Regions from separate parts of the Homo sapiens genome. Here region 1 is linked to region 2. Evidence: promoter capture Hi-C in 16 types of primary human blood cells and fetal thymus (Javierre and others, 2016). All regions are on one chromosome and are shown on one strand. Each heading gives the region's core, a stretch centred on a gene start or on the middle of the fragment in contact. The rest is flanking DNA. Distances are from core to core; before and after follow the strand shown. Region 1 holds the start of ATRAID (all-trans retinoic acid induced differentiation factor). Region 2 overlaps LOC124905979 (a long non-coding RNA gene).

Evidence for each region. The method cuts DNA at HindIII sites, captures the fragments that hold promoters and counts their contacts. A CHiCAGO score of 5 or more calls a contact.
Region 1: a contact is called between the fragment with the promoter of ATRAID here and a fragment that was not itself captured in region 2, in 1 of 17 cell types (total B cells). The highest score is 6.4, in total B cells.

What each region holds. Positions count from the first base shown.
Region 1 is chr2:27,210,425-27,213,450 of GRCh38, forward strand. It overlaps ATRAID (all-trans retinoic acid induced differentiation factor), which reads left to right and starts at 1,617. Exons shown (of 7, transcript NM_001170795.4): 1 at 1,617-2,043; 2 at 2,753-2,874. The coding sequence starts at 1,945. It overlaps SLC5A6 (solute carrier family 5 member 6), which reads right to left and starts at 1,844. Exons shown (of 17, transcript NM_021095.4): 1 at 1,596-1,844; 2 at 1,043-1,109. RefSeq lists an enhancer at 1-498 and silencers at 1,281-1,600, 1,791-2,040. The HindIII fragment of the contact is 10,416 bases long and covers 1-3,026 here.
Region 2 is chr2:26,953,874-26,957,033 of GRCh38, forward strand. LOC124905979 (a long non-coding RNA gene) reads right to left here. Exons shown (of 3, transcript XR_007086251.1): 2 at 1,417-1,461. Among named protein-coding and RNA genes, the nearest start is that of MAPRE3, 15 kb to the right of the region's middle. The HindIII fragment of the contact is 269 bases long and covers 1,290-1,558 here.

The sequences.
Region 1 (3,026 bases), core at 367-2,866, 260 kb after region 2:
GGGACCCCCCCCCCTTTTTTTTTGGAGACGGAGTCTCGCTCTGTCGCCCAGGCTGGAGTGCAGTGACACGATCTCGGCTCACTGCAACCTCCACCTCCTGGGTTCAAGTGATTCTTCTGCCTCAGCCTCCTGAGTAGCTGGGACTACAGGCATGTGCTACCGCGCCCAGCTAATTTTTTTTTTTTTTTTTTGTATTTTTAGTAGAGACGAGATTTCACCATATTGGCCAGGCTGGTCTCAAAACTCCTGACATGACGATCCACCTGCCTTGGCGGATCGGTGGCCTGGCCACCGCGCCAGGCCAAGTTCAGGTTTTTAAAAGGGGTCCCACATCACTGCCTGTAATCCCAGCACTTTGGGAGGCCGAGGCGGGCAGATCACGAGGTCAGGAGATCGAGACCATCCTGGCTAACACGGTGAAACCCCGTCTCTACTAAAAAATACAAAAAATTAGCCAGGCGTGGTGGCAGGCGCCTGTAGTCCCAGCTACTCGGGAGGTTGAGGCAGGAGAATGGCGTGAACCCGCGAGGCGGAGCTTGCAGTGAGCCGAGATCGCGCCACTGCACTCCAGCCTGGGCGACAGAGCGAGACTCCGTCTCAAAATAAAAATAAAAATAAAAATAAAAACCTGAACTCACTTTGGTCACACACTGCAGTGGATCGCATTGACTCCTACAAAAGGCAATGAGACCACTGCAGGACTAACTGTTCCAAAAAGATTCCCTCAAAATCTGTCCTGGGGCCTATAATTCCTCAAGGTGTGAAAGGCTTTGGGGGCCCTCCTTAAAATGCTAATAGCTACTAACACCTTAGAAAATTTGCCAGCCAGCTAAACGTAAACCTTTCAGGAACTTCCAGGCAGACACCATGGGGGTAATGTGGAAGGGAAGCCTGGCTCGGCTACTCGAGATGATCACTTGGGTCGGCTTTAAGGAGCTTTCTGGCTGGCCCTAACCAACACTGTCGCGCCGGGAGCAGGGATCCCCTGGCGCCCTTCAGTCAGGGCGCTGGCCCACCCTGGGGCAGCAACGCACTCCCTTACCTCCGTGGTTCAGTCAGAGCTAGGAAGGTCCCTTTGTGCTTCCTGAGATCAACATCGCTCCCTTTTCCTGGGAAGGCAAAGAAAATGAGTTAGGGAAGCGTCTATCCCGCTCCTACCTCCTCGCCAGGCTCCGGGACGCTATGCGCTATCAGCATTGAGGTGAAGAGGACTAGGTGCCCGGGGCGATCCAGGCTCGTGTCCTCCCGCTGGAGTTTGAGGTTTGCCCTTCCCTCATCACCCTCACCCTCGTTCTTTCTCGGTTTCCCGCTTCCCTCTACGCGGCGGAGACCACCACCTTACCGCTCGCACTTAAGATCTCAGACCCACGCCGGAGGCCGGCTCGCTCCGCCCCTCCCCGCCCCCTTGTCCCCGCCCCGGCTCAGACGCCGCTCCCCGGTGCCTCTCGGCACCGGCTCACGCTCTCCAGGCCCACCTGCCCGGTCTCCACACGTGGGTAGCCAGAGCCCGGCCGAGAGCCCTGGCCGGGAGCCCGCGGGGGCCCCGCCCCCTGCCCGCCCCCTGCCCGCCCCGCTCGCCGTGCCGCCATGTTTACTGAGGGCGGATGGAGGGGCCCGAGTTTCTGCGAAGCCGCGACCTCGGCGTCCGGACGCGGGGAACACCGGGCTGAGGGAGTCTGCAGTCGGCTCCGGGAAGCCGCGCGGCGACGGGGGAGGCCTTCACTAAAGGGGAAAAGGAAGAGGGGGTCGGCCAGTATCCCCGAAAGAGGGCTAGGGCGCATGAAGACCAGCGCAGAGCTCCACGAGCAGGAAAAGCCCCCAAGCAGCCCCAGGGCGACTGGACCGGGCCGCTTAGGCCACGCCCGGGGAAGAGGGCCTGACGCGCTGCGGGGCGGGGCCGCGGGGCCGGGTCGCGCGAGCAGCGGAGCACCAAGGGAACGGAAAATGGCGCCTCACGACCCGGGTAGTCTTACGACCCTGGTGCCCTGGGCTGCCGCCCTGCTCCTCGCTCTGGGCGTGGAAAGGGCTCTGGCGCTACCCGAGGTACAGAAGCAAGTTTGAGGTCGGGCTGAAGCAGGGTCGCTGGCCAGCCGTGCGTCGCGCTCGCCAGCGGCTCCCCCTTCTCCTCGGCGGGCCTGCGGTTCTGATTTCGTCCCTGACGCTTCCCGACCCTGCCCAGCCAGGTCCTGTTCCCAAGTACTCACGTCGTGCAGGCCTTCGGCGCCCCAGTCCTGCCGACTTTCAAAGACCTGTGAAACTTGATTTCGCCCCTTAATTTTAGAATAACTTTAAGTTCTTTCTACAGACGGGTCCTCTGCCTCTTGTGTAATCTCTCTACGCACGAACGCCATATATCGTGCGGTGGTAGGGCTGTACTTTTGTAATGCTTGATGAGTTCTTTACGTACCTGCGGTCGTTTTACACCGCGCCAAACTAGGGCTGTCAGATTGAGAAGTCTCTGCAGAAAGCATAATAAATAAGTTCGAATAGTGATCTTCAGAGATGAGGACCTTCCCTGTGCGATATCTGGTACTGAAAGTGTCGGGAGCTGATTCGGCGCAGGACTCTGGAGGAAGAGATGGCATCTCCTAGCCTAGCCTGTTACAAGGGTGGGACACGAGCCGTTTATCCATTTATCGGCCCCGTGTTAGAGGAATTCTGGAAACGTGTACTGGCAGTTAATTCTTGATCGCCGTTTGTTCTTTTCTTGGCTTTTCTTTCTGGAGTTCTAATGTTTCTTTCTCTTCTGCAGATATGCACCCAATGTCCAGGGAGCGTGCAAAATTTGTCAAAAGTGGCCTTTTATTGTAAAACGACACGAGAGCTAATGCTGCATGCCCGTTGCTGCCTGAATCAGAAGGGCACCATCTTGGGGTGAGGGGAAGACATCCCTAGATGCTGGATACAGGCCATTCCTTAGCCTGGCTGCTTTTATACCCTTATATTATTTAAAGAATCCACCTATTATGGTTTCAGCTGTAATCATCACGCAGATGTCTACCAAAACTAGATCTCTTTAGTGTCTT
Region 2 (3,160 bases), core at 174-2,673:
TCTACAATAACTGAATGCACAGTTATTAGTGCAATGTGTGTATATATCACTTCTAGCCCAGTGAGTTCTGCCTCCTTTAAAAATGTTTAAATAAATTAGATCCTTTGTATTTTAAGGTTTCCTTACATTTAAAGCAACACATTCTATCCCTGTGTAGCTTTTTTTAAATTGACTATTTTTTAGAAAAGTCTGATTTACAGCTGCACAGATAGTGCGGAGTTTCCATCTACTCCACACCCGGCCTCCCCTATTACTAACATCCTACATTAGCATGTTAAAATCAGTGAGCCAACACTGATACATTATCATTAATTAAAGTCCATGCCTATTCAGATTTCCTAAGTTTTTATCGAATGTCCCTTTTCTGATCCAGGATCTCCTCCAGGACACCACATTACATTTAGTTGTCATGTCTCCTGAGGCTCTGTGGACTGTGACAGTTTCTCAGACTTCCCTTGTTTTTGATGACCTTGACAAGTTTTGAGAAATATTGTTCAGAGATTTTATAGAATACTCTCTACTGGAATTTGTCTGTTGTTTTTCTAAATGGTTAGGCTGGTGTTAAGAGTTTTTAAAAGGAAGACCATAAAAGCAAGGTGCCGTTTTCCTCACGTCGCATCAAGGGTATATACTATGAAAATGACCTATTACTGATGATGTTGACTTTGATCACCTGGCTAAAGTCGGATCTACCTTTTCAAATTTATATGGTTCCCTTTTATGAGCTAAAAGCTTCTCTTTTTACAGTATGTGACTTCTTTAAGCAACTAAATATGGTTTGTATTGCTATACTAAGTTTTTCCGGTGTTTGCTAGATGATTCTCGCAGTTAGGAATTTTTTGAAATTCAGTATCAGTTGTAAGACTTTTGGCCAGACGTGGTGGCTCACACCTGTAATCCCAGCACTTTGGGAGGCCAAGGTGGGCAGATCACTTGAGGTCAGGAGTTGAAGACCAGCCTGGCTAACATGGTGAAACCCTGTCTCCACTAAAAATACAAAAAAATTATCTGGGTATGGTGGTGCAAACCTGTAATCCCAGCTACCTGGGAGGCTGAGGTGGGAGGATCGCTTGAACCCAGGAGGAAGAGGCTGCAATGAGCGGAGATTGCGCCACTGCACTCCAGCCTGGGTAACAGAGTGAGACTCCGCCTAAAAAAAAAGAAAAAAAAAAAGACTATTTGCCTGTGGGGCACAAAGACACAAAGATAGCAGTAACAAGAAATATTCACATAAATACGAGCTCTTGAGGTTTTATCTGAAATCCTCTTGACTCATGGGTCAAAATTTAAGCTTTAATTTAGGGATTTACACACACACACACACACACACACGCATTTACATGCAGACACACAGAGAGGCTCAGTTTAACTACATAACCAACTTTGTGAAGCCTTTGAATAACAAGTGTCCATTACCTTAAAGCTATTTAAGTCCAAACTTCCAAAATCCAATCTGAAATTCTAGGAAAAGAAAAACAGAGACTAACCAGGTAAAATTAATAAGCAACTGTTAAGAAAGTATAATTTATTATTTTAATGCTATCCAGAAAGCTGTTGAAGCTTTCTATTGATTTACATAACTTCAGATTATGTGAGTTTTATTGAACAAATTGATAAAGCACACATTTTTCCAACTGTGATGCATTTCAGTAGCAATATCCTATACTGCTATCAAAATCCCACATTTGACATCACATTTACAAAAAGCTTTAGCTATTAGCTTTAGTGCAGAAACTCAAATTTTTTTTCCTTTTGGAATATTTCTAGCCATGAAACTCAAATTCTCATTGAAATCATTTATGCAATATCCAAAATTCCTGATTTCACATTCTGCATTAATTTATCACCTCGAGGGGGAAAAAAGATCGCTTCACACTGAAAACAGTTGCTTACAATTATGCATATTTAAATTTCATCATCTGCTCAGTGCCTCTTGCTTTATTGGAATTTTTTTTCTTTTGGATACAGGGTCTGCCACTGTTACCCAGGCTGGAGTGCAGTGGTGCAATCACCTCTCACTGCAGCCCCGACCTTCTGGGCTCAGTCGATCCTCCCGCCTCAGCTTCCAGAGTAGCTGGGACCACAGGCATGCACCATCACTCCCAGCTAATTTTTCAATTTTATAGTAGAGACAGGGTCTCCCTATGTTGCCCAAGCTGGTCTAGAACTCCCATGCTCAAGCGATCCTCCCGCCTTGGCCTCCCAAAGTGTTGGGATTACAGGCGTGAGCCACTATGCCTCATTTTACTGGAATTCTTGATTTTAAAATATCCTCTGGGCCGGGCGCAGTGGCTCATGCCTGTAATCTCAGCACTTTGGGAGGCTGAGACGGGCGGATCACGAGGTCAGGAGTTCCAGACCAGCCTGGCCAACATAGTGAAACCCCGTCTCTACTAAAAATACAAAAATTAGCCAGCCGTGGTGGCACACGCCTGTAGTCCCAGCTACTCAGGAGGCTGAGGTGGGAGAATCGATGGAACCCAGGAGGCGGAGGTTGCAGTGAGCTGAGACCATGCCATTGCACTCCAGCCTAGTGACAGAGTGAACACCGTCTCAAAAAAAAAATCCTCTGAAGTTTTACAGTCTAAGTTTACCCTGAAGAGAGTTATTGTCTTTTGATCAGTCCCCAATGATGCCAAGTTTCAAGACACTGCAGGGGTTAATTTCAGTAAAATAGACTGCCCCCGGGGATAGACTTTGATTCCTTTACTGCTGAGGAATCAGAGCTGCTGGAGAACAACTTCTCTTGGGGAGGACGGTGGGCATTTTGAGTCCTAAAGGGAAGGAAACTTCAGTGGCAGTGCTTTGACGGCCCCTTCCCATCTTGCACGCATCTGACAGAAGGGTTCCTGGCGTGCACAGAAGAGGAAAGCTGGAGGCTCCATCACTGGTATTTTAGGACTAGCCACCACATGTGGGAGTTGCTGAGGCTTCTTCAAACTTCAATTTTCCAGCAGCCAGGCTTTCTTTCTTTCTTTCTTTCTTTTTTTTTTTTTTTGACGGAGTCTCTCTCTGTCGCCCAGGCTGGAGTGCAGCGGCATGATCTCCGCTCACCGCAACCTCCGCCTCCTGGGTTCAAGCAATTCTCCTGCCTCAGCCTCCCGAGTAGCTGGGACTACAGGCATGTGCCACCTCGCCCGGCTAATTTTTAGTAGAGACG